2 separate regions of the Homo sapiens genome follow, and region 1 is linked to region 2. Evidence: promoter capture Hi-C in 16 types of primary human blood cells and fetal thymus (Javierre and others, 2016). All regions are on one chromosome and are shown on one strand. Each heading gives the region's core, a stretch centred on a gene start or on the middle of the fragment in contact. The rest is flanking DNA. Distances are from core to core; before and after follow the strand shown. Region 1 has its middle 5.1 kb from the start of PKP3. Region 2 holds the start of TALDO1 (transaldolase 1).

Region 1 (6,166 bases), core at 717-3,216, 360 kb before region 2:
AGATGCCAGTCCCCTGCCACCTCAGCCCCTCCAGACTTTGGGCACCAATGAGTGTGGGAGGGAGGCCAAGATGGAGCTGGGGGCAGCTCAGTGCTGGCCTGTGGGCACCCCTTGGCACGAGCGGCCTGGGCACCATGGGCGGCAGTGGGAGGCAGACAGGCTCCTGGGAGGGAATGGGCAGGTCCCTGGTGAGGCTCCACCTTCAAGCCAGGGTGGGCCTGAAGGCTGGGGGCCAGGCTGACAGTCCTGAGGACCACAGTGGGGACTTGTGGTGCCTTTTCCGGGCCCACCCATGGCTGCCCATGCACCAGTTGGCATGAATTTCCTCCCCTCTGAGGCCCATAAAAGCCCTGGGTTCAGCCAGAGTGGAGAAGAGGACAGAGAGACGACGGGATGACCAGCTGCAGAAAGGAGCTACCCTCACTAGGGCCTCCTCTTTGCTGAGCATTGCAGGCCTTGGGTCAACCAACTGCAGAGAGGAGTTACCCTCTCTGCTGATAGCTGCAGGCATTGGGTCGACCAACTGCAGAGAGGAGCTGCCCTCTCTGCTGAGAGCTGAACACTCGTTGGGACGACCTTCCTGCAGAGAGGAGCCACTCACTCCCAGCCTCCTCTCTGCTGAGAGCCTCTGAGCCGTTCTGACACTTAATAAAGCTCCTCTTCGTCTTGCTCACCCTCCACTTGTCTGTGTACCTCATTCTTCCTGGACACAGGACAAGAACTCAGGCAAAGGTGCTCCTGGCCACAGAGGTTTCTGGCCAGAAAAGCAACACCCCAAATATCCCACAACATGTTTGGGGGCTCGTCTGGGATCTGCACAAGGGTAAGTAAAAGTGGATCTTCTCTTTCTGTCCTTTCTTCGTGGTCCTTAAACTCAACAGCTAAAATGAAAGAAAAATACCAGGCCTCTGTCAATTAGTTAAAAGTGACGACTAGTCTCCAAGCACCAGACTCAACACATGGAGGCCAGGCTTGCTGGGGAGGACACTGTCAAGCCCCCATCACCCTCAGGTATTGGGAATGTTGGCTTTGTTCCAACCCAGTTTTCCTTCATGGAGGTCTAGCTGTCACGTGGGACCAGAAGGAGGTCCTAGAGCAACTGGGGGTATTTGGCTGAGGTTACCCCTTGGAGTTATCCAAAGGCCCCTGGACTGACTCCAGTCCCCAGCCTCCCATGAGGGTGTTGGCACAAAGACCTCCACTCTTTCCTATCATTCTTTTCTGTCTTTCTTTTGTGGCTGTCATGGTTCCTATCTCTTCTTTATGTACAATGTTAAATGTTAAGGATGTTGTTGCAAACCAGAAATATTACTGGGTAGAATGAGCATTTGACTGAGTCATCAAAACTATAAAATGGAAGGTTAAGAATAGCACAGACGAAGTAAAGTGTGCCTTGGTATCTGTATGTAAATTTGTGGCAAAAATGTTCTTGTTATTTCCTTGGCCGCCAACTTGGTGCCAAGCACCTTGAGACCCAGAAAAGAAGCATGGTCTCAGGAAGGAAGCTTTTCTGTAAACGTGAGACCCAGAAGAGAAGCATGGTCTCAGGAAGGAAGCTTTTCTGTAAGTGTAAGACACAGAAGGGAAGCATGGTCTTGGGAGGAAGCTTTTCTGTAAATGTGAGGGCCAGTGATCCCAGGCCTCGTGTGTGCAGGCTTTCTTTGCCTTGCAGGGTAACTTGGACCTTTGCCTCTACTGTAGGATTGATCCAGCCCTCCTGGTGGCCATCTCAGGAGAGGCTGCAAGAGGCAATCCCAGGGAAATAGAGAAGCAAACCCCAGAGGCACCTCCAGTGGAGGAATCAAACCCTTCACTCCTCCCTACTCAGGTTCTCTCTCAAGCTTTCCCCAGCCTAGAAATCCTCATTTTAGGCCATTCTGAGTCAAATTAAGGGGGATCTTGGCAAGTTTTCAGATGGCCCTGACAGATACATGGAGGCTTTCCAGAACTTAACCCAAGTATTTGAGCTCTCCTGGAAGGATATCATGTTACTTCTGAATCAAACCCTGACTGCTGAAAAGCAGGCCACCCCGCAAGCGGCAGAGAATTTGGGGGATGAGCTGTATATCTTATATAGGGCCAGGGAAGAAGAGAAGCTTTATCCAATTGGATGAATAGCAGTACCATTGGAGGACCCTAAATGGGACCCCAGTGATAAAATGGGAGAATGGAGGATGAAACACTTTCAGATGTGATACTGGAGGGCTTGTGAGGGAATGGGACTGGGCTTCTCATTGCACTTGGCTGGAGGGCTTATGAGAGAAAGGGGCTGGGCCTCTTGATTGCACCAGGCTGTCCATGGTAGAGCAGGGATTGGCCCCACTGCCTTCCTGGGGGATGGCAGGGGCCTTGGTGAAGTGTGCCTCTCTGTCTCCTGACTCAGTCAATGAACGGCTGGTCCTAGGGGATGAGGAGATGAGTTCATTGCACAGGCGGCCCCTGATGTCAGAAGGAGGATGCGGGAATGGGCTGTGGGACCAGATGGTACTTTGGGGGCATCCTGGGAGGGGCCACCTCAGTTTTTTCCAGTGGGAACCGGGAGGAAGTCCAGAAAAGAGAGAGGAGATATAGGAAGAAGGCAAAGGCTCTTAACAGCTGCCCTGTGGGCTCATGGACCCCAGGATCCCTAGATACACCTGTGACTGCTGCAAATGTGTTGGGCTAGGGCCCCACAGGAGGGTTTCCAGACAGTGCAGGGAGGAGGGTCCTTCATGAGGGTTTCCACACAGTGCAGGGAGGAGGGTCCTTCAGGAGGGTTTCCACACAGTGCAGGGAGGAGGGTCCTTCAGGAGGGTTTCCACACAGTGCAGGGAGGAGGGTCCTTCAGGAGGCTTTCCAGACAGTCCTGGGAGGAGGGTCCTTCAGGAGGGGCTTTCCAGACAGTGCAGGGAGGAGGGTCCTTCAGGAGGGGCTTTCCAGACAGTGCAGGGAGGCCACCTTGACCCTGTCCAGTTTGCCTTGGGGACTGTAGGGTCCAGCCCTACGGGGCTTAGTGGGTGTTCTCCCCATGTGCGGAGACCAGAGATTGTAATAAATAAAGGCACAAGACAAAGAGATAAAGAGAAAGCAGCTGGGCCTGGGGGACCACTACCATCAAGACGCGGAGACCAGTAGTGCCCTGAACGGCTGGGCGCGCTGATATTTATTGCATACAAGACAAGGGGGCAGGATAAGGAGGGTGAATCTTCTAAGTGATAAGGTGAAGCAAGTCACCTTACGGTGACCCTTCCCTCTTAGGTAGCCGAAGTAGAGAGGAAAGGCAGCATACATCAGTGTTGTCTTCTATGCAGTTATAAGAACGATCAAAGACTTTAAGACTTTCACTATTTCTTCTACCGCTATCTACTACGAACTTCAAAGAGGAACCAGGAGTACGGGAGGAGCATGAAAGTGGACAAGGAGTGTGATCATTCAAGCACCACAGGGAGGGGGTTAGGCCTCCGGATGACTGCGGGCCAGGCCTGGAGAATATCCAGCCTCCCACAAGAAGCTGGTGGAGCAGAGTGTTCCCCGACCTCTCCAAGGAAAGGAGACTCCCTTTCGCGGTCGGCTAAGGAACGGGTGCCTTCCCAGGCACTCGCGTTACCGCTTGACCAAGGAGCCCTCAAGCGGCCCTTATGTTGGCGTGACAGAGGGCTCACCTCTTGCCTTCTAGGTCACTTCTCACAACGTCCCTTCAGCACCTGACCCTATACCCACCGCTTATTCCTAGGTTATATAGTAATGGAACAAAGAGTAATATTAAAAGCTAATGACTAATAATGTTTATAATAATGATTGATAATTGTCCATGAGCATCTCTATATCTAATTTGTATTATGACTATTCTTATTCTATTTTCTTTATTATACTGAAACAGTTTGTGCCTTCAGTCTCTTGCCTGGGCACCTGGGTCATCCTCCGCCCACAGGGGACCGCTGGAGGACAGACCATCCCTGGAGACGTGGGTTGCCGGACCTCGGGCCAGTCTCCCAAATGGTACAGCAGGACTGATGGGTCCCCAGCCTCCTCTCCCCAGCTACAGTCGTCCAGACCACCATTGCCATCCAGGAACCCCAGGGATTGTAGGGGTCAAGGGAAGGAGGATGGACCTCGTCCTGGACTCCAGAGTTCTCCTCTCCAATCTGGGCCCCCCTCCCCATCTCTTGGCACAACTGTGAGTGGCATCTCAGGCCTCCTTCCTCCACCATGTCAGGAATCAACACAGTCTTGTGAATACAGGGACCTCTCCATGGAGGGGTTAGCTTTTTTCCTTTCAGAAGGCACCTTCTTAGGCCAGGCCCCCGATTCCCAGGACTTCCCTCCTCCGCCTTGTTTGAGGAGGACCTGGCCCCACAGCGCCACCTGTTTATAACAGGAAAGCAACAGGAGCGGCCGCCACCTGTTAGCAGCTGCAATTTGGTGAGGAACACTTGGGGCTAACTGAATGGGTCCACACACCGTCCTGAGGCCAGACCCCAGGAGAACCCCCGGGAGATGCCCCGCCTGCCTCAGACAGACGCCCCCTTCCCCAGAGGAGCGCCGGGGTCCTGAGGCCAGACCCCAGGAGAACCCCCGGGAGATGCCCCGCCTGCCTCAGACAGACGCCCCCTTCCCCAGAGGAGCGCCGGGGTCCTGAGGCCAGACCCCAGGAGAACCCCCGGGAGATGCCCCGCCTGCCTCAGACAGACGCCCCCTTCCCCAGAGGAGCGCCGGGGTCCTGAGGCCAGACCCCAGGAGAACCCCCGGGAGATGCCCCGCCTGCCTCAGACAGACGCCCCCTTCCCCAGAGGAGCGCCGGGGTCCTGAGGCCAGACCCCAGGAGAACCCCCGGGAGATGCCCCGCCTGCCTCAGACAGACGCCCCCTTCCCCAGAGGAGCGCCGGGGTCCTGAGGCCAGACCCCAGGAGAACCCCCGGGAGATGCCCCGCCTGCCTCAGACAGACGCCCCCTTCCCCAGAGGAGCGCCGGGGGCATAGCAAGAGCCCGGGACTCGTCTGATGAACGAACAAGTAGTGGACGGACAGATGGACAGACTGACCAACAGGCCGGCAGTGGACGGGGTGTGTGCAGATGAAAGGTGTCCCCCCCAAGAGCCTACAGGGGCCATACCCCTCAGCTACTTTCCATGCCAAGGACCAAGGCCAGAGACCTCAGAGCTGCCCCAGCCACAGGCGCGGGGCAGGGGCCACACTCCACAAGGTGAGGGGTGGTGCCCATGGGCAGCCGGGCAGGCTCCGTGGAGGGGCTGGACTTGGCTGGAGCCCAAGTCAGAAGGTTTGCAAGCGTGGGCGCCAACAGGAAGCGCCAGGACGCTTGCCTCTGGGTGAGCTGTGCCCCCACGCCGGGTCCATCAACCACCAAGGGGCTCCCCTAATGCACTCCGAACCCCGCCCCTGCAGGCGGTGGGACCTGAGGCAGCCTCCCAAGCCTCTCTGTGCACCGGCTCACTCCTGAATTCGGCTTTGACTATATTTTGCTTCCAACGTCCTCACACCTTTCTCCCCAGATCCTCCCCCTTCTGCTCCTTAAGACGACCACCCCAACCCCCTCCACCCACGCAGGCTCTGCCCTGGAGGTTTGTCTTCTGTGCCCTCCCACAACTCCGGGCACGCACCTGGCAGCTCTGCCCACGACCTGGGCCCAGCCGACCTTCTCTGTGAGCGCCTCCCGTGCCCCCCACGCTGAGCCCACCATGCCCCGAAGCCCTCCTGCGCCCTCTCCCACCGCCTCTTGGGAGGTGACTGACAGGCCACACCCCACCCAGGACCCATCTAAGAGCAGCGCTCACTCACCCTTCGAGGCCCTCAGGTTCCAGGCTCTCAACCTGATTGTGCACCCAAGCGGCCCGAGGCTCCGTGCAGATTCCGGGCCCCACAGACAACCGCTTCCTCCAGGAAGCCTACCGTCAAGCCCCCCTCCAGGGCTCCTGTGTCAGGAGCTGGCTCCAGGGAGAGTGCGACCCTCAGGGCTGGTCACAGGGATCAGATGAGACTCCGCCGAGCCTGGAGCTGGAAGCTGCAGCGGTGGCCTAGCAGGCATCGCCATCCGTCTGGCCCGGCCGCAGTGAGGGAAGGTGCACCCCAGATTCCTGGCTTTGCCAAAACTGTGCCTGGCGGGCACCACGCATCCTCAGGGAGGCGCCGCAGCTCTGGGGGGGGGCACCCACAGCCCTCTCTGCCAAGGG
Region 2 (5,541 bases), core at 1,618-4,117:
TTTGGGAGGCCGAGGCGGGCGGATCACGAGGTCAGGAGATCGAGACCATCCTGGCTAACACGATGAAACCCCGTCTCTACTAAAAATACAAAAAATTTAGCCGGGCGAGGTGGCGGGTGCCTGTAATCCCAGCTACTCGGGAGGCTGAGGCAGGAGAATGGCGTGAACCCCAGGGGGCGGAGCCTGCAGTGAGCCGAGATTGCGCCACTGCACTCCAGCCTGGGCGACAGCGAGACTCCGTCTCAAAAAAAAAAAAAAAAAAAAATATTTTTGTTGGCTGGGCGTGGTGACTCACGCCTATAATCCCAGCACTTTGGGAGACTAGGGTGGGCGGATCACGAGGTCAGGAGATTGAGACCATCCTGGCTAACACGGTGAAACTCTGTCTCTACTAAAAATACAAAAGTTAGCTGGGCGTTGGCCGGGCGCAGTTGCTTAACACCTGTAATCCCAGCACTTTGGGAGGCCGAGGCAGGTGGAACACGAGGTCAGGAGTTTGAGATCAGCCTGGGCAACACGGTGAAACCCCGTCTCTACTAAAAATACAAAAGTAGCCGGGCATGGTGGCCCATGCCTGTAATCCCAGCTACTCGGGAGGCTGAGGCAGGAGAATCGCTTGAACCTGGGAGGCGGAGGATGCGGTGAGCTGAGATCGCGCCATTGCACTCCAGCCTGGGCAACAAGAGTAAATCTCCATCTCACCAGAAAAAAAAAAAAATTTGTCACTTTGGAGCAAGCAAAGACTCCTTAGAGAAGATACCAAAAAAGAGGAGTAAATATAAAATTAAAACTTGATAAATTGAACTTAATCAAAATAAAAAGCTAACGTTCATTAAAGACACTATTAAAATGAAAAGGGAACACATGCTGAGAGGAAGTATTGAAACCACCTTTGCAAAATTATAACTAAGGAAATTATGACAGTGAAAGATAACAGACTTAACCAATTCCATCTTGTTTCTAACCTTCAAACGGTCCTTGTCCATTACTGGCCATAGGCCAAACAAGTCTTGGGAAGGAATTTAATTTATAGTTTAAATAATAGCCCTTCCCCAAAACTAGACTGTTCTTGTAAAATGAATGAAAGGCCACCAGCCACCAAGTTAGAATGAGAGGGGCTGGAAGTCTAAATATTATCAGCCATTATTCTGGAGGTCATAAGATAAGATTTGCAACTTCCCCAAGATATCAACACTACTGTGAACCTAGGGTTGGCCTTTTTTTTTTTTTTAAATGGAGTCTCGTTCTGTAGCCCAGGTTAGTGTACAGAGGGACAATCTCGGCTCACTGCAACCTCCACCTCCCAGGTTCAAGCCATTCTCCTGCCTCAGCCTCCCAAGTAGCTGGGATTACAGCCATGTGCCACCACGCCTGGCTAATTTTGTATTTTTAGTAGAGACGGGGTTTTGCATGTTGGCCACGCTGGTCTCCAACTCCTGACCTCAAGTGATCGCCTGCTTTGGCCTTTCAATGTGCTGGGATTCCAGGCCTGAGCCACCGCGTCAGCCTAGGATTTGCCTTTTAAGAAGTCTTTTCCGCCGGGCGCGGTGGCTCACGCCTGGAATCCCAGCACTTTGGGAGACTGAGGTGGGCGGATCACGAGGTCAGGAGATCGAGACCATGCTGGCCAACATGATGAAACCCCGTCTGTACTAAAAATACAAAAATTAGCCGGGCGTGGTGGTGAGCGCCTGTAATTCCAGCTACTCGGGAGGCTGAGGCAGGAAAATCGCTCGAACCCGGGAGGCGGAGGTTGTAGTTAGCCAAGATCGCGCCACTGCACTCCAGCCTGGGCAACAAGGGCGAGATTCCGTCTCAAAAAAAAAAAAAAGTCTTTTCAGGTTTTTGCATTTCTGACAACCGGATGGCCCCACCTGGACCTGCCAACCAGTTGTGTGGCCTCTACCCAGGGACTGACTCAGCATAAGCGGACAGCTTCGACTCCCTGTGATTTCATCCCTAGCTGACCAGTCAGCACTTCTGACTCACTGGCCCCCTACCCACCAAATTATTCTTAAATACTGGGATCCCCGAGTTTTGGGGAGACTGATTTGAGGAATAAAACTCTGGTCTCCCGAACAATCGGCTCTGTGTGAATTATGCTTTCTCTATTGCAATTCCCCTGTCTTGACAATAGACTCTGTCCCGGCAGCTGGCAAGGCGAACCCATGGGGCGGTTACAGTGTCTGCAACGCAGACACAAGCGACAGAGACTTGATCAGAATATACAAGGAACTCTGCAAGTCAGCGATGGTAAGAAGCAGGGCAGCTGGGCCTCCTACGCCTGCCTCGCCGTTCGGTCCCCCGGACACCTCTGGGCTTAGGACTCAGGGGAACAGATTCCCAGAAGCAGGTTCCCCGCCGCGTCCGGCGCCCGGGCTCTGCAGCCGCCCCCTGCTCTGCCTCCTGCACCCGCAGGGCGTCCCCCGCCGCTCCCTCCCCTGCTTCCTGCAGCGGCCCCCGACCCCAGTCCTGGCCCCACCATGGATCCTGCATCGCCGGGTTCGGCCCTGGCGGGTTCAGCCCCGCAGAGTCGGCACCCGGGCCAGGTCCATCTCCTCCAGCCCTCCCGGTGCGTCCCGCGGGGCAGGAAGGAGGCGAGGCCCAGCCGCCCCGTGTCGTGCAGGTGTTTTCCCGGGCCCGTCCGCGGCGGCTGCTGAGGACCTGGGGAGACCCAGCCTGTAGGATCCGCAGCTGCGGTGCGCGGCCGGCAGTGGCGCTCGGGCTTCGTCCCCGGGGGCGGGGCTTCGTCCAGGCGCGCAGGGACCAGCGGGCCTCGCCCTCCCGCGCCGCTTTCCGATTGGCAGCCGCCCGCGGGGCATTGTGGGCCGTCCGCGCGCCCGTCCCGTCGCCGCCGCCGCCGCCGCAGACCCCTCGGTCTTGCTATGTCGAGCTCACCCGTGAAGCGTCAGAGGATGGAGTCCGCGCTGGACCAGCTCAAGCAGTTCACCACCGTGGTGGCCGACACGGGCGACTTCCACGGTGAGGACGGCGCGGAGCCCGGGCGCGGCGCAAGCGCCCTCCAGAGGCCCCGGCGCCCCGATTTCCCCGGGTCTCCCGTTCCGGGACGCGGACCGGGTGGCGGTGCCCCGGGCGGCTCGTTCCGGGAGGAATGAGCGCAGGTGCCGGATGTTGGGGCCAGGGACAGCCGTGAGGGGAGCGGGGCCCGGGTCGGCCGTGAGAGGCGCAGGGCCAGCGGCGACCGTGAGGGGAACGGGGCCCGGGTCGGCCGTGAGGGAGCAGGGCCGGGGGCAGCCGTGAGGAGCTGGGGTCAGCCGTGAGGGGCTCGGTGCTGGGGTCAGCGGTGCGGGCGGTACTGACGGGTCCTTGCGAGCCGTGGGGCACGAAGCCGGAGCCCCAGCCTCGCCCTCCGCCCAGGGTGGGGTCGGCTGCGCCCTCAGACCCCGCACCCGGGACGGGCTGTGGGCAGCCCGCGGGAGCCCCTCTGTGCACCTTCATGGGTCGAGGCAGCTTTCAGAGCCTTTGAGTTCAGGAGAGATTCAGGGTAGAGCTTCGAGCTGACTTCCACGTGGCCAGTTTGTGGTCAGCGAGATGCAATTTTGTTGGGCTGATGTCTGCAGAGCGGGGACATCAGCTAGCTCTGACCAGAAGCTGCCAGTGCTGCCATCGCCCTTGAGCCCTGCGGTGCCCAGTGGGACAACTCCGTGGGCGGCAGGTGCCCGGCCTGCTGGACAGCCACCGCCAGACGCACCGGGTGGGTAAAAGCCGGTGCCCATGAAAGCACAGGGTTGGTACACTGTTAAATACTGGATTTTCCTGGGCTTGAGTTGTTTACATTGGAGAGAACTTGGAAAATACAAAGAAGGATTATTTATTAATACTTAGCTCTTCTGTCCTCTGCAGTGCAGAGTAGACGAGCCTTGTGTCTATGTTTTGTTGAGAACAAGTAATATTTTTTAAGAAAATCATGAAACGCTTCATGGATGAATGCTGCGAGCACCTAATACGGAAGTGACTTCCTCTCTTTTCTGCTTTCTCATGGTGACTTGAGAAACAGGCTTTAATTCCTCTTTGGTAACTGAGTAAGGGCATTGTTTATCTAGCAGAGCCTAGAGAGTGAATTGGCATGTTTGGCTGCTTAACCATAAAATATGGGGATTCAGTGACTGGCTTGGGGTGCCACAGTCTGCTCCGGACCCCTCTTTGGGAGATCCAAAGCTAGAGCTGTGAATCCCTCACACACACAGCCCCCCCGTTGTAGTCCAGACCTCTCTTCATAAGAAAGAAAGCTCCAGAAAAGGGGCTACACATTTTTCTGCTGCTCAGTTTTTTCCCTTCTTAGCACTGAGAATAATTTGCAGTTTGCCTGGTGGACAGAGCGCTCATCTGTATTGTTCCTTACTGGCCCTCACCAGTTAGGGCAGAGCTGGTGCGGAGTGTCAGGTCCATTACACTTGGCAGTGCAGGGCCAATAAAGATGGATTTTCCTAAACCCACACCCACAGGAGGGCTGGGGAGTCCTGGGTTTCTGGTTTTGTTTTGTATTGTTTTTTAAGAAAACTTCTGGCCCAGCGAGGTGGCTCACGCCTGTAATCCCAGCACTTTGGGAGGTTGAGGCAGGTGGATCACGAGGTCAGGAGTTCGAGACCAGCCTGACCAACATGGTGAAACCCCGTCTCTACTAAAAATACAAAAATTAGCTGGGTGCGGTGTTGCATGCTTGTAATCCCAGCTACTTGGGAGGCTGAGGCAGGAGAATTGCTGAACCCAGAAGGCGGAGGTTGCAGTGAGCCAAGATCACACCACTGCACTCCAGCCTGGGCGACAGAGCAAAACTCCGTCTCAAAAAAAAAAAAAAAAAAATCTTCTAAACCCAAGTTGTGACATTTTTTTTTAATGAATATTAACAAAAAAATACATTCATTGATAGTATATGTTCATAAATGTTATATAGTTGTAAAATAGTCTGTTGGGTTTGTGATCTGTAGTTTGTGAAGTGAAGGTTCTTAACTCCTTGTGGGAGGGAGGCACAGGCCTCTGGAAATAGAATCAAAGCTGTGAATGCTCTTCCCACAATGTGATCCTCCCCATTTTGCATTCAGTTTAAGGATCCCTGGACCCTGAAACCCATTTTTGCCCCAATGGGCCTTGGTTTTGTTTTAATTTTGTAAAAGCCATTTGCTAAAAGCTGACTTTATCCAGGGGTGATTTTACAGGACGAAATGGGCTGTTTTCAGTGCCTCATTCAGTGCATTCTGGCAGACCTGTGTTAGCACTGTGCCAGATGTCATGTTGAAATGAGTATAGATGCACAACAGGCTTTTTCTTAACTTGTCATGTTGAAATGGGTATAGATGCACAGAAGTTGCAAAATCAGCCCATACAGTCCTGTGAACCCTTCAACCACTGTCCCCCATGGTGACATCTCATGTGACCATGGCATGGCATCCACACCGGGAAGTGGGCACTGCTGTGGTGCTGATGCTGTTATAGACTGCAGGCCTGGCTCAGGGCTCCCCAGTTTCCCCCTGCACTGGGGCAAGGAGGCTATGTGACAGTTTCATAAAGTGTGTAAATTCC

The links. The method cuts DNA at HindIII sites, captures the fragments that hold promoters and counts their contacts. A CHiCAGO score of 5 or more calls a contact.
Region 1: a contact is called between a fragment that was not itself captured here and the fragment with the promoter of TALDO1 in region 2, in 3 of 17 cell types (naive B cells, total B cells and total CD4 T cells). The highest score is 5.4, in naive B cells.

Annotation. Positions count from the first base shown.
Region 1 is chr11:386,038-392,203 of GRCh38, forward strand. No RefSeq gene overlaps it. Among named protein-coding and RNA genes, the nearest start is that of PKP3, 5.1 kb to the right of the region's middle. The HindIII fragment of the contact is 255 bases long and covers 1,840-2,094 here.
Region 2 is chr11:744,597-750,137 of GRCh38, forward strand. It overlaps TALDO1 (transaldolase 1), which reads left to right and starts at 2,868. Exons shown (of 8, transcript NM_006755.2): 1 at 2,868-2,982. The coding sequence starts at 2,886. LOC105376509 (a long non-coding RNA gene) reads left to right here. Exons shown (of 3, transcript XR_930962.3): 3 at 2,153-2,366. RefSeq lists enhancers at 1,852-2,500, 2,139-2,198, 2,501-3,149 and silencers at 2,329-2,928, 2,989-3,278, 3,379-3,468. The HindIII fragment of the contact is 13,110 bases long and covers 1-5,541 here.